Regions from separate parts of the Homo sapiens genome. Here all the other regions are linked to region 1. The links are contacts of gene promoters, found by promoter capture Hi-C in human tissues and cell types (Jung and others, 2019). All regions are on one chromosome and are shown on one strand. Each heading gives the region's core, a stretch centred on a gene start or on the middle of the fragment in contact. The rest is flanking DNA. Distances are from core to core; before and after follow the strand shown.

The links. The method cuts DNA at HindIII sites, captures the fragments that hold promoters and counts their contacts. A contact is called where the count stands out against the background at its distance.
Region 2: a contact is called between a fragment that was not itself captured here and the fragment with the promoter of HTR1B in region 1, in 1 of the 25 tissues and cell types used here (lymphoblastoid cells).
Region 3: a contact is called between a fragment that was not itself captured here and the fragment with the promoter of HTR1B in region 1, in 1 of the 25 tissues and cell types used here (aorta).
Region 4: a contact is called between a fragment that was not itself captured here and the fragment with the promoter of HTR1B in region 1, in 1 of the 25 tissues and cell types used here (dorsolateral prefrontal cortex).

Annotation. Positions count from the first base shown.
Region 1 is chr6:77,459,555-77,467,519 of GRCh38, reverse strand. HTR1B (5-hydroxytryptamine receptor 1B) reads left to right here and starts at 4,029. Exons shown (of 1, transcript NM_000863.3): 1 at 4,029-6,596. The coding sequence starts at 4,117. The coding sequence ends at 5,289. The region is part of intron 5 of LOC105377864; the gene reads right to left. RefSeq lists enhancers at 980-1,039, 1,250-1,299 and a silencer at 5,019-5,163. The HindIII fragment of the contact is 6,434 bases long and covers 812-7,245 here.
Region 2 is chr6:78,225,944-78,233,908 of GRCh38, reverse strand. The region is part of intron 1 of LOC105377865 (a long non-coding RNA gene); the gene reads left to right. Among named protein-coding and RNA genes, the nearest start is that of MIR10524, 310 kb to the left of the region's middle. The HindIII fragment of the contact is 7,053 bases long and covers 1,188-7,965 here.
Region 3 is chr6:76,836,524-76,844,488 of GRCh38, reverse strand. All of the region lies in intron 2 of LOC105377862 (a long non-coding RNA gene), which reads right to left. Among named protein-coding and RNA genes, the nearest start is that of LINC02540, 250 kb to the right of the region's middle. The HindIII fragment of the contact is 4,902 bases long and covers 2,286-7,187 here.
Region 4 is chr6:76,887,618-76,895,582 of GRCh38, reverse strand. The region is part of intron 2 of LOC105377862 (a long non-coding RNA gene); the gene reads right to left. Among named protein-coding and RNA genes, the nearest start is that of LINC02540, 300 kb to the right of the region's middle. The HindIII fragment of the contact is 9,171 bases long and covers 1-7,965 here.

The sequences.
Region 1 (7,965 bases), core at 2,780-5,279:
AGGAGAAAAGTGACAGGCGCATGAGTGTTCTAACGTTTTTCTTTCAGCAAAGCAAAGATAAAATCAGGACTTTCTTTGCTCCTGGGCCTGGACCTCTTTCAATAGTTACTCTCTGGATGGAAGACTCTAGGGATGCTGAAAGCAAGACTCAGTCGCCGCAGGCAAGAGAGCTGGCTAGGGCTGACTAAGGTTAGCTGACTGCCAGCTTACATAGAGTTGAGTTGCAATAAATTCCGTGAGATATCTCTTGTGGTTGCTGTAGGCAGAGTATGCTTCCCTTGACAGTGTCCAGTCTGGTTAGCGCTGCGCTTTAAACTTCCCAGCCTGCGCCTCGAATTTGGTGCTGCAGCTGTAGAACTACATCTTCCTAGCATGGGAGAGGGTTCCTCGAGGATTCATTTTTCTTTGGTTCCTCCGCAGCCAGCTCACCGCTAGGATCTGGTTTTGTGTCGGTTCACTGACTTCATTTCAGTTCCAGAGTTATTCTCCACTTACTCAGCTTCTGCCAAACGTACACGTGCGTGGAATTGATAATAAGGGAACCACATTAATTCGCAGTTTTAGTGCCCGGTGTTCATACGGGAGCTTATTTCTACTCAACTAAGTTTTGCTGCGCTCAGGTAATCCATCTCCACCCTTTCCCTTCCGCTACTGATTCCCTCTCTGCTCCTCCCCTGTCAGGTGAATTTCCCCCAAAACTTGCCTGGAGGTTCCTTCTAGCGCCGCTGGGGACTGCAGAGCTGGCACTTGGACCTTACCCAGCGACCCCTACTCCGAAGGGGTGACCCAGGCACAGGCGACTTTACAGGGTCTCTTTCTCTCTTGGGTGTTTCACACACATGCGCCTCTGTGCAAACACCTATGTTTTATGTGTTTTAAAGTGAGAAAGGAATACTTGAAATGCGGAAGTCAGGTTAAGGAAATGGGGTTCTTCACTGAACTCTGCCAACATCCGGTCAATATGATGGCGGTGTGTGTTTAAGCAGCTCTTTACCAAAGAGGGTAAAATCAAACTGCCTACAAGGGGCGGATTCCTCTGGGAGTCTGGGACTCTGCGAAGCAGTGGAGGCATGGCTGGAGAAAGCCACAGGTCCCCAAACCGCTAAAGCCAAAAACCGTGTGGGGAACAAATTTTGCTTTGTTTTTTCTCCGTCCCATGCTCCCGAGCAGAAATTAAAAGAGGAAAGGTCGCATGGAGCTGGTTACATTCCTGTCGGCCTTCCCCCGCTTCCCATCCCTTTAACACTTGTCTCTAATCGTTTCCAGTTCTCCTAGGATAACGGGAAAATTGTTTCCTGGCACCCCGCACTCCCACAGGACACACCCGCAATCGCACACACTTTTGATCCGTCCTGGCCAATGCCCCCACCTAGCGGTTTAAACTCGCCGGCTTTGCTTCCCTCTTCTATGGTTTCTAAGTGAGCGCTGCAGTTGACAAAAATAATTGTTTATCTAGGTGGATGGGGTGGGAGAATGGGAAGGATCCCTTAAAATGTGGTGAAAATGAGGCTTAAGGTTGGTGGCAAAATGCTAGGTGCTAGGACTGGAGGAGAAAAAGAGAGAAGGCTGTGCTTTTATCCTCAGGGTGGCTGCTGCAGCCCAGACCGCATCTAGAGGACGTCCTTGAAGAGCTGCCACCTTAGTTAAAGGAGTACCCTCACTCTCAATGCATGCATGTGTGTATGTGTGTTTTTCTTCAAAACACTTAACACTACAGAAAAGTATAAGTATTAATTATTTACTTGTTCATGTAGTTATTGTCTGTCTCTTCTAGAATGTAAACTGCTGGAAAAGAGGGTCTGAGTCTACTCCCACTGGCCTCCATACCTCGGATGCCTAGAAAAATACTCAGCATAGAGTAGGCACTCTATTTTTTGCCTGCTTGCCTGGTTTAGAGAACCGGGAATTAAGGGAACTTGGGTTTGTGCTTTATTGCCTTGGGTAAAAAGCTCTTCTTTCAAAGGATCTCAATTACTCTTCCTCTAAAACTGGGTGGAGGGATCAGATCAGATAGCCTTAGGTTCTGACACAGAATGATTCTCTTTAAAATATATGTGCGCTTAAACAGATGAATTCATTTACAATGCAGTTTTTATTAGATACACTCTAGGTGCCAAACATGGATCTAGGCTCTAGGAATTCGTAGTGGGGATCATTTAATCCTTCGAGCTGAAAATACCTTGTCCTTTCCTGGAGCTTTTCTTCATACTTTCTGATTTGCATCTCTACCCTACATTTGTTTCTGTTGAGGTCAGAGGAGAAACTGAGGACAGGGGATCCGTCCCTGGTCATGAGACCTAGGTACTGGTATTGCATGCTGCAGCTTATGGCTGACATTCCCACATATTAGTTGAAGGCAAAGGAGACACACAAGATGGTGCTGATGATGGTTCCAGTCCTCCCCGCCCCACCATCCCCCTTTTTTCTTGAATTCTGATGACCTCCTTTCTAGGTAGGCTGTTGGAAGGAACACGCTTACTGGCAACTGTTTTCCAGAGGCACTGAAGCACTGAGCAGCTGGAAGAGGATGGTGGAGCAGAAGGTTTAATTTCACATACAGTTGGCTTCTGTTTGTGATAACTTTTACATTTTCGCAGATAGCTTGTCTTTTTCCCTGTTGACTCATAGTTGAGTGAAAAACACAAATTTCTAAAACTAGATGAAAAAATAGTTTTTATTGTATCAAGAGTTAAGGACGGCAAAGTACAAAATGCAAACATTGGGCCCTCTACAGCGATATTACTGGTGCCTCCTAACCTGGGTGTGGCCATCAGGGCTGGATATGATTTTAGAGCGGAGAGGTCAGAGACCAGGGCTTCCCCGCCTAACACTGGCCTCCTAGGGTGGGAGTGGTAGGCAGGAGCCTAGGGCCAGACTGCTGGACTAAACCTGTGACCATGGCTAAGGACATGGGTCTCACTGGAGGTCAGCGCAGCAAGCTCTGATGTCCGTAGAGGCGAGAACAGGACGCCTTCTTCCCCTGACCAGAAATGCAGCTCCAGGTTGTCAGGGCTGGGAGGATGGCCCAGGGTGGGAAGCGGGGAGATAGGGCGGTAGGACCCGGCGGGAGCTTCCTTGGCCAGGAAAGGAACAGGGCGGGGGGAAAAGAGGGAGGGAGAGAGAAAAAGGGAAGGTGATGGGGAGCGGGCGTCCGCACCCGCCGCGCCGCACGAGTTGCACTGCTCTGGCGGACCGGACCTGGACTCTATATAAAGAGCCCATCTGCTCCGTAGCTCGCACGCTTCTCCCGGGCTGGTGCACGCCGCGTCCCTCCAGCTCCCCCAGACACCTGCCCCTTCCCAGTGTGCCGCGCCAGGTCCTCCAGACCCGCGCACCCAGTGGCATGGCTCCGAGTGGCTCCCGTGGGACCAGGGTGGCGGTGGCGGCGGCGCGGCCCGAGCAGCCGCAACTCCAGCCCCCGTGTCCCCCCTTTTATGGCTCCGTCTCCGCGGGGCAGCTCGTCCGAGTGGCCAGAGAGTGAAAAGAGAGGGAGGGCAGAGCTCCGGCGCGAGGCGCGGCGCAGCGCTGCTCCTAGACTTCACCCCACCCAGCTCTGGCGGCCGCTGCAGCCCCCCAAAAGTGCCCCAGCTTGGGGCGAGGGGTGGGAATGCAAGATCTCGGGACCTCTCGCTGGCCTGCAAGCTTTGGTCTCTACACCTAGGAAACTCCTGTGGGCAAAGTCTGCAGATCCAAAAGCGTCCAGGTTAGGAGACGCTCAGCCTCAAGCAACTGGGGTAAGAGATCCCATTTGGTCAAAGCCTTCTCCTCAAGCAGTACTTCACCCTCCTGCACTAGACGCCTCCAGGGAGCTGGAGCGGAGCAGGGCTCGGTGGGCCAGCTCTTAGCAACCCAGGTCTAAGACCCGGTGTGGAGAGGAACAACCACAGACGCGGCGGCTTAGCTAGGCGCTCTGGAAGTGCAGGGGAGGCGCCCGCCTGCCTTGGCTGCCGCACCCATGACCTCTAGTTTCAGCTGTGAACCTGGGCGGAGGAATAATTGAGGAACTCACGGAACTATCAACTGGGGACAAACCTGCGATCGCCACGGTCCTTCCGCCCTCTCCTTCGTCCGCTCCATGCCCAAGAGCTGCGCTCCGGAGCTGGGGCGAGGAGAGCCATGGAGGAACCGGGTGCTCAGTGCGCTCCACCGCCGCCCGCGGGCTCCGAGACCTGGGTTCCTCAAGCCAACTTATCCTCTGCTCCCTCCCAAAACTGCAGCGCCAAGGACTACATTTACCAGGACTCCATCTCCCTACCCTGGAAAGTACTGCTGGTTATGCTATTGGCGCTCATCACCTTGGCCACCACGCTCTCCAATGCCTTTGTGATTGCCACAGTGTACCGGACCCGGAAACTGCACACCCCGGCTAACTACCTGATCGCCTCTCTGGCGGTCACCGACCTGCTTGTGTCCATCCTGGTGATGCCCATCAGCACCATGTACACTGTCACCGGCCGCTGGACACTGGGCCAGGTGGTCTGTGACTTCTGGCTGTCGTCGGACATCACTTGTTGCACTGCCTCCATCCTGCACCTCTGTGTCATCGCCCTGGACCGCTACTGGGCCATCACGGACGCCGTGGAGTACTCAGCTAAAAGGACTCCCAAGAGGGCGGCGGTCATGATCGCGCTGGTGTGGGTCTTCTCCATCTCTATCTCGCTGCCGCCCTTCTTCTGGCGTCAGGCTAAGGCCGAAGAGGAGGTGTCGGAATGCGTGGTGAACACCGACCACATCCTCTACACGGTCTACTCCACGGTGGGTGCTTTCTACTTCCCCACCCTGCTCCTCATCGCCCTCTATGGCCGCATCTACGTAGAAGCCCGCTCCCGGATTTTGAAACAGACGCCCAACAGGACCGGCAAGCGCTTGACCCGAGCCCAGCTGATAACCGACTCCCCCGGGTCCACGTCCTCGGTCACCTCTATTAACTCGCGGGTTCCCGACGTGCCCAGCGAATCCGGATCTCCTGTGTATGTGAACCAAGTCAAAGTGCGAGTCTCCGACGCCCTGCTGGAAAAGAAGAAACTCATGGCCGCTAGGGAGCGCAAAGCCACCAAGACCCTAGGGATCATTTTGGGAGCCTTTATTGTGTGTTGGCTACCCTTCTTCATCATCTCCCTAGTGATGCCTATCTGCAAAGATGCCTGCTGGTTCCACCTAGCCATCTTTGACTTCTTCACATGGCTGGGCTATCTCAACTCCCTCATCAACCCCATAATCTATACCATGTCCAATGAGGACTTTAAACAAGCATTCCATAAACTGATACGTTTTAAGTGCACAAGTTGACTTGCCGTTTGCAGTGGGGTCGCCTAAGCGACCTTTGGGGACCAAGTTGTGTCTGGTTCCACAGGTAGGTCGAATCTTCTTTCGCGGTTTCTGGGTCCCAGCGAGGCTCTCTCTCCTGGGCAAGGGCAATGGATCCTGAGAAGCCAGAATAGTCCTGAGAGAGAGCTCTGAAAGGAGAAGTGTTGAAACTAAATGTAGAGCTTCCCTGCCCAGGAGGAGGCTCACTTCCTCCCCTCAAGCCCCGGGCTCAGCACTGACCCTGCGGCAGCCAATCCCAAAGGGGGTTGCAACTTTTAAAAATTGATAATGGAAGGGAATCCCTGCCCTGCTTTGGTATCGTGGATAATGCCCACTAGAAGCAGTGTACTTGTAATTGTTGTCTGAAGCCTGTCTGAGACAGATCTACATACAGCCTGGCAGTACTTGAACTAGACGCTTAATGCCCTGTGTTTTTGGGGGGAGAACTTTGTGTTACAGCTTAATTTAAGAACAGTTACTTTGGCATCATTCAGTCTTCACTTTTTGTCTATTTAAACTTGGTTGGAGAAACTTGTGGATTTGGTGCTTCAAACCCTATGTGTGGCTTGGATGGCGCAGAGAAACCTTGAAGAGTTAACAGCAAAATTCTGATGCTGAGATCTCTATTTTTATTATACTTGAAACTATATGGGGGTGGGTGGGTGGGAATGGGAGATGAGGAGTGTTAAACTGAGAATCAACACCTATGATTGTTTGTTTTCTGCAGATTTACAATTTTGTAATTCCTGTTTAGCGATTGTCAAGCCACAACTCTAACAAACAAACCATTATGTGTGCTAGTGCCGAAGTCTGCAGACTGCTTTATTTTTTCTCTTAATTTCATGTACCTGTCACTTTACACATTTAAATCCCCATAAATGAAGGGTATGATGGGTGACTCAGCCCACACTGCTGCTATATTTCTTACTAATGCAATTGGTAAAACCGATTAGTATTGGAAATATACTGTTTCTTAACAAGAAAAGTGTCTTTATTTCTTATCCAATTTAGTGAGATGTGAAGGAGACTGATGACATGGGGATAGTTCTTACACAATTGAGGAATGGGGTGGGGGCAATAGGAGGATGTATATTTTGACTTGTAAAAAAATCTTAAAATGCATGAAACTTTTATCTGATAGTCATTTGCACTCTCCTTCCCATCTGTGATTCCTTGTGTGCTAACATATAAAGAAACCAAGAGAACTATCTTCCTTCTCCAGAAACCTTAAAAATACAGTTAAGGGCCCTAAAAACGATATTGAAAAGAAAATAAACTTGTTTCTTTTTTGTTGTTGTTGTTATTGAAGTTTGGGCAGGAGAAAAGATTGCTAGAAAATGACATATAAGAACTTTAGAAAAGCTTAGAGAAACTAAAATTGAGCCTGTTTTTGTCTTGTTTTTTGTTTGTTTAAAAAAGAAAAAATTGCAGAACCAAACCTCAGACTTACTAACAATCAGGAAACTGGCAAGCTTTTGACCTTTGTAAATTTGTTACCAACCTGATATCTCAATTAATATAATATCTGGAATACTTTAAATTTATCAGTCTTTTCAAATTTCAAGAATACTTAGTTATTTCAAATTTCCTCTGAGAGCTCCCTAATACAGGATAAAGTCATGAAATAAAATATGAAAAAAATGTATATTTTAATAAGAAGTAGCCCTGAGGGATTATCTGCACGGAAAAAAATGTATATGTACAGCATTTAACATGCCAAAGAAAATTCACACTCCTTTCCTCAGAGGGCATTCTGCAGTTGATACCTTTTGTCTGCAGAAGCAAGTTGTCTTTGTGAAATGGATTCACTCCTTGCTTGAAACTCCCCAGTCCTGTTTGTCAGACAATAAATACATTGAGCTGAAGTACACTGCTTGCCTACTGTGCAGACCTTCACCTTGAGTAATCACTCTTGAAAATATACTATTCAAAGATTCACACATAAGCTAACTAAAAAGGGGAGTTTTGATCAATATTTATACCTGTCACTGGTGTGAGAGAAAATTTTAGGCATTAGATTTGCCTATACTTCTGCTGGATCCCAAGTTTCTTTGTTTGCTTTTTGTGATATTTCTCCTATGGAGGAATGTGCATAGAGCGTGGTGTTTGTTTTTATGTTATTAATACTGTGGTCTTCTGTTTATACAGTTGTATTTTCTTTGGTCCTAAGAGGCAATTAAGTCAACTTCTAAGAGCCTTAGGGGGAAACATTAATTGAAACAAATAGCCACTTTCAAATGATTTCTTTATAGGGTACCTGCAATGATGGTGTCCTCACATTAACAAAACACAATCAGTTTAGTCGAATGGGTTGTTTGCCATTTTGTAGATTAACCACCTAAATTATTGCTTGACTATTTGGCTGTATTGCCTGGATTTGGGGCATATTGTATGAAATAGAAGCTTGCAAACCCTTATAGTTATAAGAGATATAGAATCATCATTCAGCATTGCACATGATTATGCAAAGTGTAGTATTCATCCCAGGGGTATGTAGTTAAGACTGTTAAGCTCCTTTTCAGTTACTGTTGCCTATAGCATAGTTTATTTCATAAACTAGGCACATGGCTTTTTTGCAGAACATGAAGCGGGAGATGGAAATGTTTAACTTACATAGCAATGGAAATATATTTTCATTGGCTGTGGTAATAAACAACA
Region 2 (7,965 bases), core at 3,465-5,964, 770 kb before region 1:
TTCTCATTTGTGTTCTTAATTCAGTCAATGCATCAAGGCCCTGTTTATCAATTCTGTTCTCTTTCTTCAGTATCATAAGTGTGCTTTATTTTTCTGCTAGGTCCCTCTCTTCTACATGTAAACATGCTCAGGCTTTTCCCCTTATTATAAAACAACTTCTCCTTGGCCCTATGCCACTCTGTAACAACTACGCAATTGAAGCTACCTCCTTATAAGAATTGTCTCTGCTCAGTGTCACTAGTTCTCAACATCAAGTTCATATTTTTTCAACTCTACTATTTTTATGTGGATATCTTCTAAACAAATACAAAACACAGGCTCTCTGAAACAAAAGCATTTGATTATTAATTTGTAGCATTTGATTATTTCCTTGATGTAAATACTGTCAAGATGGCAGAATTCAAGCAACCGACATGAAGTAACTGAAGTAGATTTGAAAAGATGAAAAGAGATGTGCATAGCAGCTCTTGAAAGCTGCTGAAAGACTATAAGCTGGCTCTAGAACATCACTGATAATACATTTCTTTGCTTCTTTTTTTTTTTTTCCTTTCCTTCCTCGTATTGGATTATCCAGATTATTTTGTTGCTTTGTTTCTCTTTTTCTGGAATGGAAGTTACACATTTTATGTCGTTTACTTAATGATTGCCTTTGAATTTTTTTTAACATGCAGACAAATTTAAGAAATTAATATCTCCAACTTAAATAATCTAAGATTTAGGTTGCTGAATTTTGACCCCTTCCCCAACTTATATGCCACTGCTGTCTGATATTTTAGTTTATGCTTTTTAAACCTCACCAAACTTGACAAAATATGATTACTTGTAGAATCTTAAACAATCTTTTTCAGTGCACTGTCATAATGTATACACCATATGTTTTCAAATTGGGTTCTGTGGATCCCACTGACATCATATCGGTGGCTTAGGAGCTCCTGATATGAATGTAAGAGGGGCCACAGAGTTTGATGGAGGTATAAGCCAGGCACAGTGTCTCTAAGCAGAGAAGAATGCTAATCTTCTATAGAGTTTTGGAAAATGATGAAGTTCAATGACTAGCAGATTTTCAGAGAACATGGAGTAATTTAACATCACTGTAGTTATGTGGTTATTTGTATATGACTGTTGTTGATTGCCTGGCACTCAGATGCGTGGTCATTGGGTCTTTACCTGATTGGCTGACTTTCAGATGTGAAGGGCTTTTGCTGTTTGGTTACTTCACAGAACCATATTTGGTTACTTCATAAAACCATATTTACTGAAGTGAGTTGTCATTGGTTGATTAAACATACTTAAAACTAGCTCCATACCAGGTACGGTGGCTCACCCCTGTAATCTCAGCATGTTGGGAGGCTGAGGTGGGTGGATCACTTGAGGTCAGGAGTTTGAGATCAGCCTGGCCAACATGGTGAAACACTGTCTATACTGAAAACACAAAAATTAGCCAAGCATGGTGGCACAAACTTGTAATCCCAGCTACTCAGGAGGCTGAGGCAGGAGAAGCGCTTGAGCTATGGAGGTAGAGGTTGCAGTGAGCTGAGATGGTGCCACTGCACTCCAGCCTGGGCAGATAGAGCAAGACTCCATCTCAAAAAAAAAAAAAAAAATAGGGATAGGAGGCAGGAATAAATTACACTCCCACTTGGACAGAAAGAGGAGCATGTGGAGTCTCACATTGTGAACACTTTCTCTAAGAACTACCTGCCAGGAATATACTAGGACAGCTGAGAGAATCTACAGACGCTTTGGAGGAGTGGTTTGCTCCTGGAGGACCCAGGAGACAGCCTAAATACTGTGAGTGTCCAAACAGTGAAACTGGGAAAGGGTGATTGTCCATCTCTGAACACACACTCTCACTGGGGAACCTGAAAGTCAGATCACAGGAGAAGGATTTTATCTTACCTGGAGCTGAGATAATTTAGAGAGCCGAGCAACAACCTAAATGTCTAGCAACAATAGATTGGATTAAGAAAATGTGGCACATATACACCATGGAATACTATGCAGCCATAAAAAATGATGAGTTCATGTCCTTTGTAGGGACATGGATGAAACTGGAAACGATCATTCTCAGCAAACTATCGCAAGGACAAAAAACCAAACACCGCCTGTTCTCACTCATAGGTGGGAATTGAACAATAAAAACACATGGACACAGGAAGGGGAACATCACACACCAGGGACTGTTGTGGGGCAGGGGGAGGGGGGAGGGATAGCATTAGGAGATATACCTAAAGCTAAATGATGAGTTAATGGGTGCAGCGCACCAACATGGCACATGTATACATATGTAACAAACCTGCACGTTGTGCACATGTACCCTAAAACTTAAAGTATAATAATAATAAAATTAAAAATAAATAAATAAATATATAAAAAAAATACAAGGGTAGAAAAAGCTGCAGGTAAAGCCCTGTGGGCTCTCTGGGTCCCCAGGGAAGCCACTTCTGACTGTCTCATAGAGGTCCTTGGGGAGGGGCTGCCAGAGGAACTGGGAAAAGACCACAGGGAGAAGGAAACCACCAGCTGAACTTCGTAACAATTCCAACTGAATGCAAAGTGTTCTGGCCAGAACTCAGGGGAGGGCATGAATCTGGTGTGCAGAGTCCACAGGCAAGGAGGCAGGAAAGCTCTGCTTGCTTTCTCAGCTGGGAGACTGGTAGCCTGGGGCAAATTCTCAGTCCTGCTTACCTACTGCCTGGAAACAAACTTGGTGCTGTTTGGAGGGTACAGTGGGCATGAAACCGGGCTTTTGGATTGTGTGGGAGCTGGGGGAGGCCTGTAACTGCCAACTTTCCCCCACCTACTTGACAACCTCCATGACTCAGCAGAGCCAGCCATAATCCTCCTGGGAATATAACTCCATTGACCTGGGAACCACACCCGCATCCCCCACAGAAGCTGCAGCAAGACTCGCCAAGGAGAGTCTTGAGCTCAGATGCACTTAACCCTGCCCTTACCTGATGGTCTTTGTCTACCCACCCTGGTAGCTGAAGACAAAGGTTATATTCCCTTGGGAGTTCTAGGGCCCCACCCATTGCCTGTTCCTCCCCATACTACCATAGCTGATGCTCTCTTGAAAGTGCCACCTCCTGGCAGGAGGCCAACTAGCACAAAACTAGTACCTTAAACAGCTACAATTAAGGACCCTCACAGAGTCCATTTCACTCCCCTGCCACCTCTAGCAGAGTAGGGGAGGTGAGAGATCTGAAGATGGTTCACATCACAGGGCTCTCTGCAGACAGCCCCCAGTACTAGCCTTGAGCCTAGTAGCCCTGCTGGGTAGTTAGATTCAGAAGAGAAGTAACAATCCCTACAGTTCAGCTCTCAGGAAACCACATCCCTAGGAAAATAGGGAGAGTACTACATCAAGGGAGCACCTTGTTGAACAAAAGACAATGAACAGAAGCCTTGGGCCCCACATCTTCCCTCTGACGTAGTCTACCCAAATGAGAAGGAACCAGAAAAACAATTCTGATAATATGACAAAATGAGGTTCTTTAACACCCCTAAAAAAATCAAACTAGCTCACCAGCAAAGGATCCAAACAAGAAGAAATCTCTGAATTGCCAGAAAAAGGATTCAGAAAGTCAATTATTAAGCTAATTGATGAAGCACCAGAGAAAGGTGAAGTTCAACTTAAGGAAATAAAAAAAGTCTATCTTAAGGAAATTAAAAAAAAAAGATACAAGATATGAGAAGAGAAATCTTCAGTGAAATAGACAGCATAAATAGAAAACAATCACAACTTTGGGAAATGAAGGAAATAGCAACAGAATCGAACAAACATAAGAAAGAAATTCAGAGCTCAAAGACGAGGTTTTCAAATTAACCCAATCCAACAAAGACAAAGAAACAAGAATTTTAAAAATGAAAAAAGCCTCCAAGGAGTTTGGGATTATGTTAAACAATCAAACCTAAGAATAATTGGTGTTACTGAGAAAGAAGAGAAATCTAAAAGTTTGGAAAATATATTGGAGGGAATAATTGAGGAAAACTTCCCTGGCCTTGCTAGAGATCTAGACATCCAAATACAAAGAGCTCAAAGAACATCTGGGAAATTCATCACAAAATGATCATCGCCTAGGCACATAGTCATCAGGCTACCTAAGTCAAGACAAAGGAAAGAATCTTAAGAGCTGTGAGGCAAAAGTACCAGGTAACCTGTAAAGAAAAACCTATCAGATTAACAGCAGATTTCTCAGCAGAAACTGTACAAGCTAGAAGGGATTGGGACCCTATCTTTAGCCTCCTTAAACAAAACAATTATCAGCCAAGAGTTTTGTATCCACCGAATCTAAGCTTCATAAATGAAGGTAAGATACAGTCTTTTTCAGACAAACAAATGCTGAGAAAATTCATCACTACAAAGCCAGCACTACAAGAACTGCTAAAAGATACTCTAAATCTTGAAACAAATCCTGGAAACATATCAAAACTGAACCTTTTTAAAGCATGAATCCCACAGGACCTATAAAAAAATACAATAAATAAATAAATGTTAAAAACCCAAGGTATTCAGGCAACAAAGAGTATTATGAATGGAATAGTACCTCACATCTCAATACTAACATTGAATGTAAATGGCCTAAATGCTCCACTAAAAAGATACAGATTTGCAGAATGGGTAAGAATTCACCAATGAAATATCTGCTGCCTTCAAGAGACTCACCTAACCATAAGGACTCACATAAACTTAAGGTAACAGGGTGGAAAAAGACATTCCATGCAAATGGACACCAAAAGTAAGCAGGAGTAGCTATTATATCAGACAAAACAAACTTTAAAGCAACAGAAGTTTAAGAAAACAGAGGGACATTATATAATGATAAAAGGCCTTGTCCAATAGGAAAATATCACAATCATAAATATATATGCACCTAACACTGGAGTTGCCAAATTTATAAAACAATTACTACTAGAGATAAGAAATGAGAAAGACAGCAACACAATAATAGTGAAGCGCTTCAGTATTCCACTGACAGCACCAGACAGGTTATCGAGACAGAAAATCAACAAAGAAACAATGGATTTAAACTATACCCTAGAACAAACGGAGTTAACAGATATTTACAGAAATTCTACTCAACAACCACAGAATATACATTACATTCATCAGTGCATGGAAGTTTCTCCAAGATAGACCATATGGTAGGCCATAAAACAAGTCTCAATAAATTTTAGAAGATTGAAATTATATCAAGTATTATCTCAGACCACAGTGAAATAAAATTGGAAATCATCTCCAAAAGGAGCCTTCAAAATCATGCAAATACATGAAAATTAAATAACTTGCTTCTCAATTTCATTAGGTCAACAATGAAATCAAGATGGAAATTAAAGAATTATTTGTCCATTTCTTCTAGATTTTCTAGTATATTTGCGTAGAGGTGTTTGTAGTATTCTCTGATGGTAGTTTGCATTTCTGTGGGATAGGTGGTGATATCCCCTTTATCATTTTTTATTGCATCTATTTGATTCTTCTCTCTTTCTTCTTTATTAGTCTTGCTAGCAGTCTATCAATTTTGTTGATCCTTTCAAAAAGCCAGCTCCTGGATTCATTAATTTTTTGAAGGGTTTTTTGTGTCTCTATTTCCTTCAGTTCTGCTCTGATTTTAGTTATTTCTTGCCTTCTGCTAGCTTTTGAATGTGTTTGCTCTTGCTTTTCTAGTTCCTTTAATTGTGATGTTAGGGTGTCAATTTTGGATCTTTCCTGCTTTCTCTTGTGGGCATTTAGTGCTATAAATTTCCCTCTACACACTGCTTTGAATGTGTCCCAGAGATTCTGGTATGTTGTGTCTTTGTTTTTGTTGGTTTCAAAGAACATCTTTATTTCTGCCTTCATTTCGTTATGTAGCCAGTAGTCATTCAGGAGCAAGTTGTTCAGTTTCCATGTAGTTGAGCGGTTTTGAGTGAGTTTCTTAATCCTGAGTTCTAGTTTGATTGCACTGTGGTCTGAGAGACAGTTTGTTACAATTTCTGATCTTTTACATTTGCTGAGGAGTGCTTTACTTCCAAGTATGTGGTCAATTTTGGAATAGGTGTGGTGTGGTGCTGAAAAAAATGTATATTCTGTTGATTTGGGGTGGAGAGTTCTGTAGATGTCTATTAGGTCTGCTTGGTGCAGAGCTGAGTTCCATTCCTGGGTATCCTTGTTAACTTTCTGCCTTGTTGATCTGTCTAACTTTGACAGGGGGGTGGTAAAGTCTCCCATTATTATTGTGTGGGAGTCTAAGTCTCTTTGTATGTCACTCAGGACTTGCTTTATGAATCTGGGTGCTCCTGTATTGGGTGCATATATATTTAGGATAGTTAGCTCTTCTTGTTGAATTGATCCCTTTACCATTATGTAATGGCCTTCTTTGTCTCTTTTGATCTTTGTTGGTTTAAAGTCTGTTTTATCTGATACTAGGTTTGCAACCCCTGCCTTTTTTTTGTTTTCCATTTGCTTGGTAGGTCTTCCTCCATCCTTTTATTTTGAGCCTATGTGTGTCTCTGCATGTGAGATGGGTTTCCTGAATACAGCACACTGATGGGTCTTGAGTCTTTATCCAATTTGCCAGTCTGTGTCTTTTAATTGGAGCATTTAGTCCATTTACATTTAAAGTTAATATTGTTATGTGTGAATTTGATCCTGTCATTATGATGCTAGCTGGTTATTTTGCTCGTTAGTTGATGCAGTTTCCTCCTAGTCTTGATGGTCTTTACAATTTCACATGATTTTGCAGTGGCTGGTACCGCTTGTTCCTTTCCATGTTTAGTGCTTCCTTCAGGAGCTCTTTTAGGGCAGGCATGGTGGTGACAAAATCTCTCAGCATTTGCTTGTCTGTAAAGGATTTTATTTCTCCTTCACTTATGAAGCTTAGTTTGGCTGGATATGAAATTCTGGGTTCAAAATTCTTTTCTTTAAGAATGTTGAATATTGGCCCCCACTCTCTTCTGGTTTGTAGAGTTTCTGCTGAGAGATCCGCTGTTAGTCTGATGGGCTTCCCTTTGTGAGTAACCCGACCTTTCTCTCTGGCTGCCCTTAACATTTTTTTCCTTCATTTCAACTTTGGTGAACTGACAATTATGTGTCTTGGAGTTGCTCTTCTCGAGGAGTATCTTTGTGGCATTCTCTTTATTTCCTGAATCTGAATGTTGGCCTGCCTTGCTAGATTGGAGAAGTTCTCCTGGATAATATCCTGCAGAGTGTTTTCCAACTTGGTTCCATTCTCCCCTCACTTTCAGGTACACCAATCAGACGTAGATTTGGTCTTTTCCCAACCCAAATGTCCAAAAATGATAGACTGGATTAAGAAAATGTGGCACATATACACCATGGAATACTATGCAGCCATAAAAAATGATGAGTTCATGTCCTTTATAGGGACATGGATGAAATTGGAAATCATCATTCTCAGTAAACTATCGCAAGAACAAAAAACCAAACACCACGTATTCTCACTCATAGGTGGGAATTGAACAATGAGAACACATGGACACAGGAAGGGGAACATCACACTCCGGGGACTGTTGTGGGGTGGGGGGAGGGGGGAGGGATAGCATTAGGAGATATACCTAATGCTAAATGACGAGTTAATGGGTGCAGTACACCAGCATGGCACATGTATACATATGTAACTAACCTGCACATTGTGCACATGTACCCTAAAACTTAAAGTATAATAATAAAAAAGAACTCATTGATTAAATACTTAAATATGAGACCCTCAACTCTAAAAATACTAGAAGAACACCTAAAGAAAACTTACAGATATTGGTCTAGGCCAATAATGCATTAACAAGACCTCAAAAGCACAAGCAACAAAAACAAAAATAGGCAAATCGAATTTAATTAAACTAAAAAGCTTCTGCACAGCAAAAGAAATTTAATTAAATGAAAAAGCTTCTGCACAGCCAAAGAAAACAGACAACTGGAAGAATGAGAGAAAATATTTGCAAACAGTTCATCTGACAGGGAATTAA
Region 3 (7,965 bases), core at 3,487-5,986, 620 kb after region 1:
AAATAAAAAGTTGTTAAACCACATGATTCTTTCTGATTTTAAAACAATATAACTGTTTGGAATCCGTTTTTCATTGAAATATTGAAGTTATCTTACAGCATTTTAAAACATAATTTTCTTTGGATCTTGTATGAAATTACAATAAATGACGTCAACAAGTAAAAACAAATCTTTGGAAGAAAAGTGAAGACAGCAATAACAAAAAGGATGTTTATATATAGGTGTTCACTTCATCCCTTCTCTACTCCTATTATCCCTTTCCCACCTGCACTCTGTTATTTTCCAATGCATTATTGCATCTACTGTCAAAGACACCTCTATTTCACCAAAATTGTATATACGTCTGTGTCTGCATCTCCCAGAAACTCTCTCCCCAACTCTTGACCAAATAAAAGCATATTCCTTCTTGAAGCTCTCCCATTCACAGCATCTAGAGCACCACACTATTCTGATTCGCTGTTAAGTTTCTGATTGCTCCTTCTCAGTTGTGTTTGTTTGTTTTGGCTTCTCTTTGTCTTAACTTCTAAATCCTCTTTGCCTCAAAGCTTAGCCCTAAGCCTTCCTTTCTTTTCATCTAGAATCTTGGTCCCCAGGGAATCTCATCAATGCATATGGATAAGATTCAAATATTATGCATATGCTGTGGACTCCTTGTGTTTCCTCTTTCACAAATTCCAGGTTTGTATGTCCAAGTGATTACTGGATATCTCTTGGCTATCACATAAATACCTCAAATTTGGTACATCGAAAAGGAACCCTTGCTATTCTCCTATGTATTTCTCCCTCAGTGTGTCCTACCTTAGTGAAAGGCACTATGTCTATCTTAGTGCTCCAGGCAAAAGCTGAGGAATTATCTTACTCCTCCCTAATTCATTCTCAAGTCCTATTTATTCTACCTCAAAAATATGTATCTACTTTCACTCCCTCCAAATCACTGTCATCTCTCCCATGGGCAATCATAAAAGTGTTGTAACTCTTCTCATTACTTCCTCTCTTGCCTTTTCAAAACCATTCTCCACAAAACAGCCAGAATGACACTTTAAAAGCATAAATTATTCCCACTTACAAGTTTTTAATTGGCTTCTGATTGAATTTAGAATAAAATTCATATTTCTCTTCATCCTACAAAGCATGACACAATCTGACCATGGTCTGGCTACCCTTTCATTTCCTGTTTCTAATAAACTTTTTCCAGCCACACTGACTTCTTGCATTTCTTGGAACCATCCATCTTGCCTTGGCTTCTTTCCATTTACTTTGAAATGGATGCATATGCTTCCAGTTTTTCACATGGCTAACATCTCCTGTTTCATCTCTCAGCTTAAAGATCTCCTGCCCAGAAAAGCCTTTTCTGACAACACTATCTGAAATAAGGCCCTCCTCCATTATTCTCTATATAGCTGGTCCTACAGATTTTCATCTTTAGCAATTCCAAATTCGGTATTTATTTGTGTGCTGTTATTTTCCATTTGCTATATTGGACTGTACGTGCCAACAAAAGAGGCTTTTTCCCTCTTTTTCATCATGCCTTTTAGCTACCCTCCAAGAAATACAAGAGAAATAGGGGAACTATCAGACTATTCCCACATCTAGTATATTTTCTGCTGCATATCATTTTTCTAATAAGTATTTTTAATTTAATGAATTATTTACTGATTATCTATTACCTACCTGACACTCTAATAGGAGCTAAGCAATCAACAGGGAGGAGCAGTTTACAGTCTTAGGTGGACTACTGGTAGGTGAAAGGACATACTAATCATACGTGCTCCAATAGGAGGCAGCACACAGCGATGTATGAAGCGTATGTCTTTACTTCCTTGAAAATGCATGAACCCTGGATCCAATTCCAGGCACAGTCCTTAACAAGTGTGACAGCTGATTCTTTTCTTTCTTTCCTTTTTTCAAACCCCAGTTGTGGTGCAGTCAGACACGTAAACCTCATGGAGAATCCCTATGTAAGTGCTCCAGTTCACTGCCAGCTGTGTGAAACTGTCTTGAATATCCAGGTGAAGCCAAGGCTTCAGATTACTCAAATCCCAACCACCATTTTTCTGACTGTAACTGCAGGAGAGATCCCAAGGAAGATCACAGTTGAGCCTGACCCAAAGCCAACCCAAATATCTGTAAGAAATAGTAATAAATTGTTGTAAGCCACTAACTTTTAAAGTGGTGTGTTATATAGCAATGGGTAACTAAAACAGCAATGAAATTTTTGTTTTTGCTCTAGTGTTGCTAGATTGTGTTTGTTAATACATGACAAGAAAAGAAGAAGGAATGCAATTGTTTAGCTAAGAGCAAATAAGGCAAAAGAAAACATTCAGATCAGCTTCACATTGCTTTGTGGACACTCAGGCAGTCTCTTAATGCTTCTGAAGCCCCCTTTCCATACATGGATCCACTCATCCATCCATCCATCCATTCATTTCCCCACCCATCATTCATTTAACATTTATGGAGGGAGCTCCTACTCTGAGGCAGGCTCTTCATTAAGCAATGAGATGCAAAATGGAATGAAACAGGATTTTGCTCTCAAAGAAAATCTGTCCAATTAGGAAAATTTATCATTCTAAAAAAAAGTACAGGTAGGTTGGGAGAGTTATAAAAATAGAAGATAACATTTTTGTTTGTTTATTTTCCTCCATGGCATTTTTGAAAACAACCATTTATCCTAAAAGTCTCAGATAGTTCTGTTAAATCAAAATCTCAAACCCACTTCTCTGTTCTCCCTATGTATTGGTTAAAACAAGTCTTGACTGAAAATAGTTGGGAATCTACTGAGGAAGATGTGTTGCTGTGGGGGATAGGTCTGGAAACAGAGAAGAGATGGAGCAATTGAAAAAACAGGTATGTGCATCGTGTGCACTAGCCACTCACCAAGAAACACCAACAGATGCAGAAGTATGGGAGTCAGAGAAATAAGAATAATCAGGTAGTCAGCTTTAGAAACATCAGGTTTGCTAGTCACATCGATTGCAATTTCTTAATTTTATCTACATTTATTTATTCACTTTGATTCATAAGTACACAGCTATATTCATACAATATCAAATATTAAAGCAGATGAGATGCCTGGCAACATTTATATCCATTTAATTGATGTAGGCTATATAATATGGTTGGTGCTAATTTGAAAGCCATATTAGATTATTTACAGTTTTATTATCCAGGTGATTCTGCATTTCTTATATATTTTTATCAAGTATCTGCCCTGCTGCAATGACACCGGGAGTAACTTAAAGTGTTCTGAACTGATTATAAATATCTATGCATTTTATTTTTTGTTTCCCTTCCATCCACCTAGTGTTTTTTCTACAAGTATGTTTATCTTTGGTAGTCAGACCATGTTGCATGCAGTGAACCATAAAAAATTCATAAGTTTCTCAAGTTCACTTCAAAAGCAATACCTGATCTGTCAAAACACATTTTAAACTGTCAAAATGCTTTTCCATTATGGCCTTATTTGGTGCTGTGGTGCTTTATAACCCCAACGTGCTGGGAAAAAAGAGGTGAAAAGACTCACGTGGAGATGTTCTGCTGCAAAAAGTCAAAAAGCAATGCATTGATGTTTGGCTGAACATCCATAACCAGCAATGATTTAATAATTTATATTTGTAAATTATGTAAATACCCATTTAGACCTTGAGGAAAAAACATGTCTTTAAAAATGAAAATTAAAATCTATCATCAGGATTTTTAGATTATTTAAGATAAAACTAGCAACATTAGCCCCCTCACAGTTTACACTCTTAATTTTAAGGTATATATTAACCAGTAAAAATTTTTTGGACAACTAGGTGTGAAGATACTGACAGTTTCAGTCTTAACACGTACTTTTATATGCAGTGTCAACTGGGGGCATAAAGCATAGTAGAATCATTATAAAAAACTTGATAACTGCTGAACTGTAATTCTGAAACTCATTAGTCATCGCATTTCAGTATTTATTACTTATCTTGCTACATAGTTCAAAATACTTCATTGTATTGCTGCTAAGATCACTTGCTCAAAAAAAAAAAAAAAAGCTTATTGGTTCCTGTTATCAGCAAGGCCAGTTAGCTTTGTTCAAATTCCTGATCTTAGGTGACCCTAGCACCTCAGCCTCACTCCTTCACAATATATTAGTAAATCTGTGTGATAACGAATATATATTAAACATATTAATGCAACTTCATCATTATAAGAGAAAAAAATCTCAAATAGAGGGCATACTCATAGTAAAACCATAACCACAAGTACATGTGTGAGAGTTCATAATCATTACATAAATGTCTGTCTTACTTTTATACAGACATGAACAAAAGTATTCTACTATGTGACAGACACTGTGCTGAGAATTGAGAATACTCATAGCTGGGAAGCAATATAGACATTGTGCCTGTCCTCCTTGATTTACATTCCCATAAGGAACATGATGTAGAGGAAAGTACAAGTACCTTAGCCTCAACCTAGGGCCTCAGCATAAGGTGACTTCAGCACCAAGTCATCTTGGTTTAGCCTATGCCAACAGATGACTTAATTTATATGATCTTGCTTACCTTATGAGGAAAAAAAAAGAGTTCTAGAATATAAACTGAAAGAAAACAAATGTAATATAAAACAATACATAATATACATTAAGTCAGCTTAAGAATCTGATACTTAGAATTTTACGGAAGATAAAAAAGTAATTATTCCTTTGATTTGTTTTTTCTGTGAACACAGTCATTTTCTTCTATTCTGTGAATCATTTTGAGATAGAGAAAAGGAAGATTGACGTTAGGCAGAATCCAGTCTCCCCTGGGACCTTATGTCTGACTGTCAAGTTTTCTGTGTTCATATTTCTCTATAATACTGTAACCCTATAATACTGTAACCCTGACACTAGTTGGGCTGCCTATTCTCTGAAAGATTTAAATTATATTTGTTCAAGTTCTTATCCCACACTCTAAAGGAAGTCCAGTGACCTAATCAAGAGTTCTGTGATGTACTAGGCACTTAAATATACCAGATGCCTTCTGACCCGGAACCACTACCCTCGCCGAACCCATGACTTCAGTCATTTTTCAACTCTTACTGCTGTTTCTCACCTTCTCTCCCCTGGCCACCATAAATTTCTATGCCTATTCCTTTTCTTTGATTTCCCCTATGTCTTAGTTTGTCTTGTGCTACTATAACAGAGTACCTGAGACTGGGTAATTTATAGGCAACAGAAATTTATTTCTTACAGTTCTGGAACCTAAGAAGTCCAGGGCCAAGGCTCTACCATCTAGTGAGGGCATGCTTGCTGTGTCCTTACATGGCAGAAGGCAGAAAGGGAAAAGAGGATAAATGCTATGCCCGTACATGGCAGAGGAGCAGAGGAGTGAGAAAACTCCCTCCTGAAAGCCATTTTTTTACATTGATATTACTCTATTAATGAAGGCAGAGCTCTCATGACCTAAACATCTCTTGAAAGTCCCCACCACCTCCCAACACCGTTGGCATTGGTGATTAAGTTTCCAACACATGAATTTTGGGGGACATGTTAAGATCATAGCACCCCAAGATGACTTCATTAATATTTATCTTTGAATATGTAGCAGCCTTCATTAAGTATTGAAGTAAAAGATAAGCTTTAAAGTTACTAAAATATGAGGCTTTAAGACTTAACCATCTTTCTTTAAAAAGACGGTGCTCATTTTCTGCCAAGCTGTGCAGGAATCTTTCCTCTGCAAAATTTCTGCATTTCAATTCTTTTCACATTATTATGCAGAACATTAGCTCCTGCTACCCAGTTCACTCTTGCCTGCTAAAATAAAGGACCATCCACTCCAGACATGAGTCTTTGCTAGCACAGGAGACCTATTCAAAGCTTTCTTTTTCTTTTATTTTTTATTTATCAATCTCTGTTGCAAGATAGATGAGAATCATATACTAAAGTGATTTAACTTCCCACTACTTAACTACTCTGCTTCAACTAGAAGACAGTGGAGAACAAAGGCACTTTGGGTTTTAAATAATGTTTTTTTCACTCTGTTAAAAAAAAATCGTGCTCTGATTTGGAGTTAGGTGCCTCCTCCTCACTCCCACAGGAGTCATCACAGTACAGATTACCCTCTATTGTCATTATCTATTTAATCATCTATGGCTCTCACTAGGTTAGATTTCCACAAGGAAAGAAACTCTGTACATTTTTATCTGTTTTTTTTTTTATAATATCTAGCATTGCCTAAAAGTAGCTACTCAAGAAATATTTGTTATGTGAATGGACGAAAAATATTATATTCCTGACAATAACAAAACCTGGATTTTCTACATTTTCTATATTTATAATGTTTACAATATAGCAGATACTATGATCAAATGATTATAATAAACACTACAAACAAAAAACCCAAAACATACTGCTAGACAAGTCTCTCACTCAAAAGCTGAGGACCTTGTGGTGAGAGAAGAGAAATGAGAGCTTAGTCTTCTCACTCTGTAAGGACTTTCCTGGGGTTAGAAATCAGGCTTCCTCTCTTTCTGGGTCCTGCATCTTTCCATTATACCACATCTTAGCCTGAGGAGTCAGATAGCCTGCCACCCTGAATTATGGAAGAAGCTAGTAAACAGCTTTCCAGAAGCAAGCATCGATTGTTTTTGCATCTCCTTACAAGCAGTGTAGAATAAGAAGCAGCTTCCAACTCCCAGAAGCTTGAGATGGCTTTTCAAGTGTGGAAAAATAACCAAGCGGGAGCACCAGCGCCTTGAGCCTCCAAGGTTGCCTTATATTCTTGGCAAAAGTACACTGGTTGTTCAAGGGCATTTTACGTTTTCAAAAGCTGTTTTTGGACACTGGGAAGGTTTAGTTTCATGAAGGTGATTTAAACTGCTTGCTTTGGGTGTGGAAAGATTAGGATTTAAGAATCGTTAAGTGAAATTCATTTAAGAATAATAAGGATTAACAGTCAAATACTGCTTGCTTGCTTGCTTATTTGTTCTGCAGCTATATCTTCCAAGAAATATTTGCATTGCACATCAAAAATGAAAATAGTTTGAAAATAACTGATAATCCATAGATTAGAAAAACCTCATTGAGGATAACCATTGGATATTTAATTTCTACTGTGTCCCTCTCCTCACTCTTAAAGTTTTTCTGCATCCTATCTCTTTGGCCTCATTTCCAACCTGTCCTTCATTCAATCCTTCATGCAGCTATAGATAAGTTGCTAGAGTATATTGTAAGAGAGGTAATATATCAAAAATTGCCTCAATTCAAATCCCTGCCCCATCACTTTCTAGCTATGTGACCTTCTAGCTGTATTGACTTAGTGGTCTTGTTACTCGTCCGTTGTTAAAACATGTAAGGCACTTGCATAGCACATAATAATTTATCAATAAATGTTACATAAGGCTGACAACACCTTCTCTACAATTCCAAAGCTACAAATTTGAATGTTTCTGTGTAGTTTCTTTTATAACAAACCCTGACCTGACCTGAACACATCTGACAGCAAAGCCTGACTTGGACTGACTTTAGAGTGTATCTAGTCTATATTTATTCCACATAGTGTAAATATTTATTTATTTTATTGGAAAAATTAATTCATTTGATTACAGGGTACATTATCAGATCCCATTGAGTGTTATAGAGTATGTGTGCCTTACTGTGTTTCTGAAATATAAAAAAGATCTGAATTCTGAAACACATCTGTATCCAAGAGCTTGTATAAGTCACGATGGGACTCCAGGTTATAATTACTTTAATACAAGCTTCTAAATAGACTATGTTTGCTTTCAATACCATTACCTCCTTCACAATGTTTGAGCTACTCTCATCCTACCCTGTACCCCTGATTCAGTAAGTCCCAGATCAAGTGTGTATAGCTCTGTAGAAGTCCCTTTACTATTCCAAACATTGGAACTTTTCCTCTTTTTGTCCCTCTAGTTCTTAACACTGTGCTCCATACAGTTTTCTTTGCTTTACTTTGTAAATTGTATTTTTTAAAAAGTAAGTGTCAC
Region 4 (7,965 bases), core at 2,693-5,192, 570 kb after region 1:
TATGATTTGGCTGTGTCTTCACTCAAATCTCATCCTGAATTGTGGTTCCCATAATCCCCATGTGTTGTGGGAGGGACCAGGTGGAAATAATTGAATCATGGGGTGGTTCCCCCATCCTGTTCTTGTGTAAAACCCTTTATAAGGGTTTCCCCTTTTGCTGGGTGCTCATTCTTCTCTCTTCTGCTACCTTGTGAAGGAGGACATCTTTGCTTCCCCAACTGCCATGATTGTAAGTTTCCAGAGGCCTCCCCAGCCATGCTAACAGTGAGCTAATTAAACATCTTTCCTTTATAAATTACTCAGTCTCAGATATGTCCTTTATAGCAGCATGAGAATGCACTAATACAGTAAATTGGTACCACAAAGAGTGGGGTGCTCTTGTAAAGATACCCAGAAATGTGGAAGCAACCTTGGAACTGGGTAACAGGCTGAGGTTGGAACAGTTTGCGGGGCTCAGAAGAAGACAGAAAAATGTGGAAAATTTGAATCTTCCTAGAGACTTGGAGGGCTCAGAAGACAGAAGATGTGGAAAAGTTTGGAACTTCCTAGAGACTTTTTTAGTGGCTTTGACTAAAATGCTGATAGTGATATGAACAATAAAGTCCAGGCTGAGGTGGTCTCAGATGGAGATGAGCGACTTATTGGGAACAGGAGTAAAGGTCACGCTTGCTATGCAAAACACTGGTGGCATTTTGCCCCTGCCCTAGAGACCTGGGGAACCTTGAACTTGAGAGACATTATTTAGAGTATGTGGCAGAAGAAATTTCTAAGTGGGCAAGTGTTTAAGAGGAAGAAGAGCATAAAAGTTTGGAAAATTTGCAGCCTGACAATGCAATAGTAAAGAAAAACCCATTTTCTGGGGCGAATTCAAGCCAGCTGCAGAAATTTGCAGAAGTAACAAGAAGCCAAATGTTAGTCAGCAAGACAATAGAGAAAATTCTCCAGGGCATGTCAGAGACTTTCAGAGCAGCCCTTTGTATCACAGGCCTGGAGGCCTAGGAAGGAAAAATGGTTTCCTGGGCTGGGTCCAGGGAAGTCTGCTCTATGCATACTCAGGACATGGTGCCCTGCATTCCAGCTGCTTCAGTTCCAGCCATGGCTAAAAGGGGCCAATGTACAGCTCAGGCCGTTGCTTCAGTGGGTGCAAGCCCCAAACCTTGGTGGCTTACATGTGGTATTGGGCCAGTGGGCACATGCAAGTCAGGAATTGAGGTTTAGGAACCTCCACCCAGATTTCAGAGGATGTATGGAAATGCCTGGATGACCAGGCAGAAATTTGCTACAGGAGTAGAGCCTTCATGGAAAAACTCTGCTAGGGCACTGCGGAAGAGAAATATGGGATTGAAGCCCCCATACAGAGTTGCCACTGGGGCACTGCCTGATGGAGTTATGAGAAAAGGCCTATTGTCCTTCTGACCCCAGAATGGTAAATTCACTGACAGCCTACATTGTGTGCCTGGAAAAGCCACAGACACTCAATGCCAGCCCATGTAAGCAGCCAGAAGGAGGGCTATGCCTTGGAAAGCCACAGGGATGGAGCTTCCCAAAGCTGTGGGTGCCCACCTCTTGCATCAGCATGACCTGGATATGAGACATGGAGTCAAAGGAGATAATTTTGGAACTTTAATGATGGCCCTATTGGATTTCATACTTGCATGGGTCCTGTAGCCCTTTGTTTTTGCCAACTTCTCCTATTTGGAATGGTTGTATTTACCCAATGCCTGTATTACCATTGTATTAGGAAGTAACTAACTTGCTTTTGATTTTACAGGCTCATAGGCAGAAGGAACTTGCCTTGTCTCAGATGAGACTTTGGACTTGGTCTTTTGAGTTAATGCTGGAATGAGTTAAGGTACTTGGGGGACTGTTGGAAGGGCATGATTGTGTTTTGAATTTTGAGGACATGAGATTTGGGAGGGGACAAGGGAGGAATTATGTGGTTAGGCTTAGTGTCCCCACCCAAATCTCATCTTGAATTGTAGTTTCTATAATCTCCATGTGTTGTGGGAGGGAACAGGTGGAGACAATTAAATTATGGGGGTGGTTTCCCCATTTTCTTCATGTGATAGTGAGTTAGTTCTCATGAGATCTGATGGTTTTTTAAGGGGCTTCCCCCTTCACTGGGAACTCATTCTTCTCTGTCCTGCTCCCTTGTGAAAAAGAATGTGTTTGCTTCCCCTTACACCATGATTGTAAATTTCCTGAGGCCTCCCCATCCCTGTGGAACTGTAAGTCAATTAAACCTCTTTCCTTTATAAGTTACCCAGTCTCAGGTATGTTCTTTATAGCAGCTTGAGAACAAACTAATACAATACATAAAAATATAAAGATTTTATCTGTACCACGAAAAAAGTGTTAAAAATATATATTACTTTGATTAACCTCAGAGAAATATTTTGATCTTAAAATTTCCTGAAAGTATTTAGTAGTTATGTGAGGTTCACCCATTCCTGCAGAATAGAAATTAAGAACCCAGAGCTATATTCAAATTTCTGTTCTGATTACTGACTGTATGACCTTAGGCAAGCTGCTTTATCATCTTGTAGCTCAGTTTTCTTATTCACACAATATAGACAAAGCTATACTTACGCTAGGATTTTTGCAAGAATAATTATATGGAAAGTCCTTCGCTAAGACAATTCCTGAATTACAGTAAGCCATCACAAAATATTAGCAATTGTTCTTTAAACATACTTAAGAAATTTCTGCTCATGAAAGTCTATGTATATTTTGCTGTGGGAAATGGAAAGAAAAGACCAAACTTTCTGCTGGTCAGTCCCCAGGCATCACAGACAAGCAGACAGTGATGATGGTAGTAATGCCTCCTTCGAGCTACTTCATTTCCAAAATTCCTAAGTATATACTACCAATTATTTGCAATGCAAAACCGATGCTCATGCAGAGGAAAATGCTGAAACTATTATGTTAATCTTCAAGTAGAATAAATCTCAAGCCCGAATATATATTTCACTTGCATTTTTATTAAAAGTGTTTTTGTTTATTTCTTTTGCCTTGCTTTTGATAGTTCCATAAGAAGTTATTGCCAGTAAATGAGAACACACATGGAGAGTATGCAGAATGTCACTTTTATCAGCAGTTAAAAGAGTAAAAACTTTATATGTTTTGTACAATTATTTAAGTGTGAATCACCAGTTCTTTCTCAATCTATTCAGTGTTCTCTCTAGAGGGATTCTCAGCAGATCTCTTGATGGTTCCAATGCACTATTCTGAAGAAAAAATGGTTTCCACTGGAATTTTATTAAGTCAAACTGGGACAAGCTGAATATAAGTAGAAAATGCTAGAAAATGGGACAAGCTGAATATAAGTAGAAAACGCTAAAATAAAAATGGCATGAAGAATAAAGTCTCAACATGCTCAGTCAGTATTTTTTTAATTATATCTTCTTTAAGTACACAATTTCCTGTACCTTTTAGGAAGATTTCAAAGAGGATATTTAAGTGTATGATCTTTTTGATCTGAAAATTAGCCTGCCATGCAGTAGGCAAAAAATCATTTTCTTTCTTCACATATAGTATATTCATACTGCTTTTGTTTGAAATTGAAATTAGGATGAATACTTACCTTTCTATGTTGTAACTCAAATAATTTTCTTTTTTTATATTTTATTATTATTATACTTTAAGTTTTAGGGTACATGTACACAATGTGCAGGTTAGTTACAGATGTATACATGTGCCATGCTGGTGCGCTGCACCCATTAACTTATCATTTAGCATTAGGTATATCTCCTAATGCTATCCCTCCCCCCTCCCCCCACCCCACAACAGTCCCCAGAGTGTGATGTTCCCTTTCCTGTGTCCATGTGTTCTCATTGTTCAATTCCCACCTATGAGTGAGAATATGCAGTGTTTGGCTTTTTGTTCTTGCGATAGTTTACTGAGAATGATGATTTCCAATTTCATCCATGTCCCTACAAAGGACATGAACTCATCATTTTTTATGGCTGCATAGTATTCCATGGTGTATATGTGCCACATTTTCTTAATCCAGTCTATCATTGTTGGACATTTGGGTTGGTTCCAAGTCTTTGCTATTGTGAATAGTGCCGCAATAAACATACGTGTGCATGTGTCTTTATAGCAGCATGATTTATAGTCCTTTGGGTATATACCCAGTAATGGGATGGCTGGATCAAATGGTATTTCAAGTTCTAGATCCCTGAGGAATCGCCACACTGACTTCCACAATGGTTGAACTAGTTTACAGTCCCACCAACAGTGTAAAAGTGTCCCTATTTCTCCACATCCTCTCCAGCACCTGTTGTTTCCTGACTTTTTAATGATTGCCATTCTAACTGGTGTGAGATGGTATCTCATTGTGGTTTTGATTTGCATTTCTCTGATGGCCAGTGATGATGAGCATTTTTTCATGTGTTTTTTGGCTGCATAAATGTCTTCTTTTGAGAAGTGTCTGTTCATGTCCTTCGCCCACTTTTTGATGGGGTTGTTTGTTTTTTTCTTGTAAATTTGTTTGTTAACTCAAATAATTTTCAATACATGATGGTAAATTCAGTATCCGTGGGCTGTGCCCACCAAATAACAGGGACTAGGTTTGCCTTCATATATCAAATGTATAGACATAATGTTTCAAAGTCAGGAAAACCTTGAAATTTAATGTTTTTTGTCCACAGTGGTTAGATATCCCTTTAGGAAATAAGTCTATTAATGAATATCAGGACTTCAGAAGTAAAAATAAATGGCCCTTTGAACTATGTAATACATAAATTCGTAAACCAAACAAATAAAATATGCAAAAAATGATCATGCAAAGCATAAATGAAAAATGATACATTTATTCATTTTTATAAGACTTACAATATGCCAGGAGGTTTTAGTTGCTGAAGATAAAGTGTTAAATATGAAAAGAACTTGTCCTCCTAGAAATTAGCACTGTAATAACAGTGATGCCTAAAAATGTATATGTACACAGACTTACATCAGTTAAGATGCCTAACTGTATCTTCATGCTTGAAGAAATAATTACTTTGGGATCCTTTCTGTTTTACTATTTCAGTACTTTGAAAAAGCTGTAGGTGTATCTATGTAAAAATAAAAATCAACTAATAGCACTATCTTTAGAATTATGATGTCTAGCATTTAGAAAGTATAAACGACAAAATGTTATAAAGTTGTCAGACATTTTTATGCCTGTTTATGTAGAAATGATTTTAATCTGAGAAGAAGGGCAAAGTCTGGCATAATGACAGAAATAATGGCATGAAATAAATGATATGAAATAAATGGCTATTTAGAACTAAAAATAATGAAATGAGGTGAGTTCTACGAAGATAGTGGGTAATTATCTAAGGGCTAGTGATTAAAATGTAGATGTGATGTCCAAAACTGTAGCAGCCATTTGGGACTATGAAGCAACAATCCTGTGAAAGAAGAGCATGCATGGTGAAAATAGTGGAAATCAACAAACTCATTATTTGTTTAAGCTACTGTTACAGGTTTTTTTCTTATTTGCAGCTGAAGGTATTTTTCATATGACAACTAGCATGAGTGAAAAGCAAAGTTTGGATCAAGAATTTTTCATACCGTGACATGAAGGCTGTTTAACATGATGGTAACAAACCTACACTAGGGTCATGATTTGACTGAAAGAATAACCTGGCTACTAATCCTGCGGGACAGAACAAGAACAGAATGCAAAGATGTGCAGACAGAACAGAAAGCAATAAGCAAGCTTTGCATATACAATTGAAAGTAGTAATTTGCTAAGGTAAAATAATTCAAGAGAAGGCTTTGTCTGTGCTAACGTTGTAAGCATAAGGGGAAAGGGCAACTCTTAGTGCAGTGGTAACTCCTAAACCCTCATTTCATCTCTGTGCTCCACATATCCATCTGTGTAGTTAATCAAGCTTTTCTTTCCCTTATGTGTATTCATTTTTCCTGGTATTAATTCCTATGTAGCATTAATTTGTAACAAGCAATGAACCTTCCGTAAGCATTATTTTCTATCTTGGAAAGAGTAAAATTAATTAACACCTTTGACATTTGAAAAGTATAAAACTTGCCTATGGTCACCAAAATAAGCACTCTTGGGTCTTTATTATCAACATTTTGCTTAGTCCACCTGGTACCTACCTGTAGGTCTATTTTTATCAGAATGTTTAAATAAATAAATTATTTATGTCCTAATTATAAAGAGGTATTATTTCACCAGGTTATTAAAAATGGCCAGAGGAAATATATCAAACTGTGAAGTAAAATCATATTCTTTGACTATAGAAAGATAAAAAGCAGTTTTTGAAAGGAATAAAAGGGAATGGTACAGTTTAGGGAAGTAACATACAGATATAGATAAAAGACATAATTAAAACTAAAACAGAAAAACTAGGAAAGATCCTTAAAAAACAGTATGCTGTATTCTAGAGAGAATTTTAGAAAAAATACAGCAGCATAAAAAAAACAGCATAACAAATATCTCTTCAGTTCATCCTTACAAAGCAAACATTGAATGAATTTAGATTTTGTAAATTGCTTCAAGCCTTTACATTGAATTATTTTACAAGAATTAAGAATATTGCAAATATTATATAATTTTAGTAGGATACATATTTTAATGTAAAGTCCCTCTGCTATAGTTTAGTTTGTTTGACTCTCCCAAATCTCATGTTGTAATTGGATCGCTAGTGTTAGAGGTGGGGCCCAATGGGAGGTGTTTTCGTCATGGGGGTGGATCCCTTATGAATGGGTTGGTGCCATCCTAATGGTAATGAATGAGTTCTCACTCTCTTAGTTCTTGCGAGAGCTATTTATTAAAAACAGTGTGTCACCTCCCTTCTCTCCTTCTTGGCTTTCTTTTTTGCTATGTGGTCTGTGCATGCACTGGCTTCATGAGTGGAAGCAGCCTGACACCCTCACCAGAAACAGATGCTGGCACTATGCTTCTTGCACAGCCTTCAGAATCATGAGCCAAATAAACCTCTTTTCCTTATAAATTACCCAGCCTCAGGCATTCCTTTGCAGCAACACAAAGGAGCTAAGACACTCTCTTTCAGGACTATTGCCAATGATCTGGCTTTTTCCTAGAAATGTAGCAAAGTAAAATCAATTCCAAGTCCCCAGTTTATTGATTTTTTCCTTGTGCTACATATATACTTTCCTGTTACACATCCTCCAGATTGGCCAGGATTTAGTGAAGGGGACAGAAATGTAATATATCTGTTCAAAAAAAAGCTTTCCATTTTAGATTCAATGCCATTTGAGAATAATACTAAATTCCTAGACACTGCATCTTCTTCTCTTTTCAGTACATTTAGCTAAAAGGGATAGTGGTGGTATTAAATACAAGGTAACATGGGGTTCTGAAAAATATCTAACTCACAGGCAATTAATTAGAAGGTAAAGAAAATAGTCTTCCCTTTTATAGCATCTGCCAACCCGAAATGGGTTGGTACTATTTGCCTTCATGTGTGTCCCTTAGTCATTAAAAAAGAATTTCATTTTACTCGATAAGGACCAAATTATGAAATTATGTTTTATGATTTGGGGAAAACAAATTAAACCACTTACAACTTACAAAAATGTGCAAGATTATTTTCTTGTAAAAAATGTTGATCCTATAGTTATTTGTAAACTGCAGGAAAATGCAGATAGAAAACAAAGTTTAAAAACAGCAAATAAATAGTTTGTTTCACCACATGAAATTCTATGCATTATTTAAATTATTTGATGTGGAGCTCATTTGTTGATCAAGAAAGACATATATTATATTTTAAGTAAAAAATTAAGCTTAATGTCATAAAAATCCATTTTTATTGAAATGAGTTTTTGTATGTGGAGTTTCTACATCAGTGAAATGCACAGGGGGAAAAGTGTAGAATGATACACAGCAATTGTAACAATACTGTTTTTTAAGGGATGTGATTTTTATGGACATTTTTTATTTTCTTCCTTGTCTTTTGTTTTTGACTTTGATAATGGCAGATAAAAATA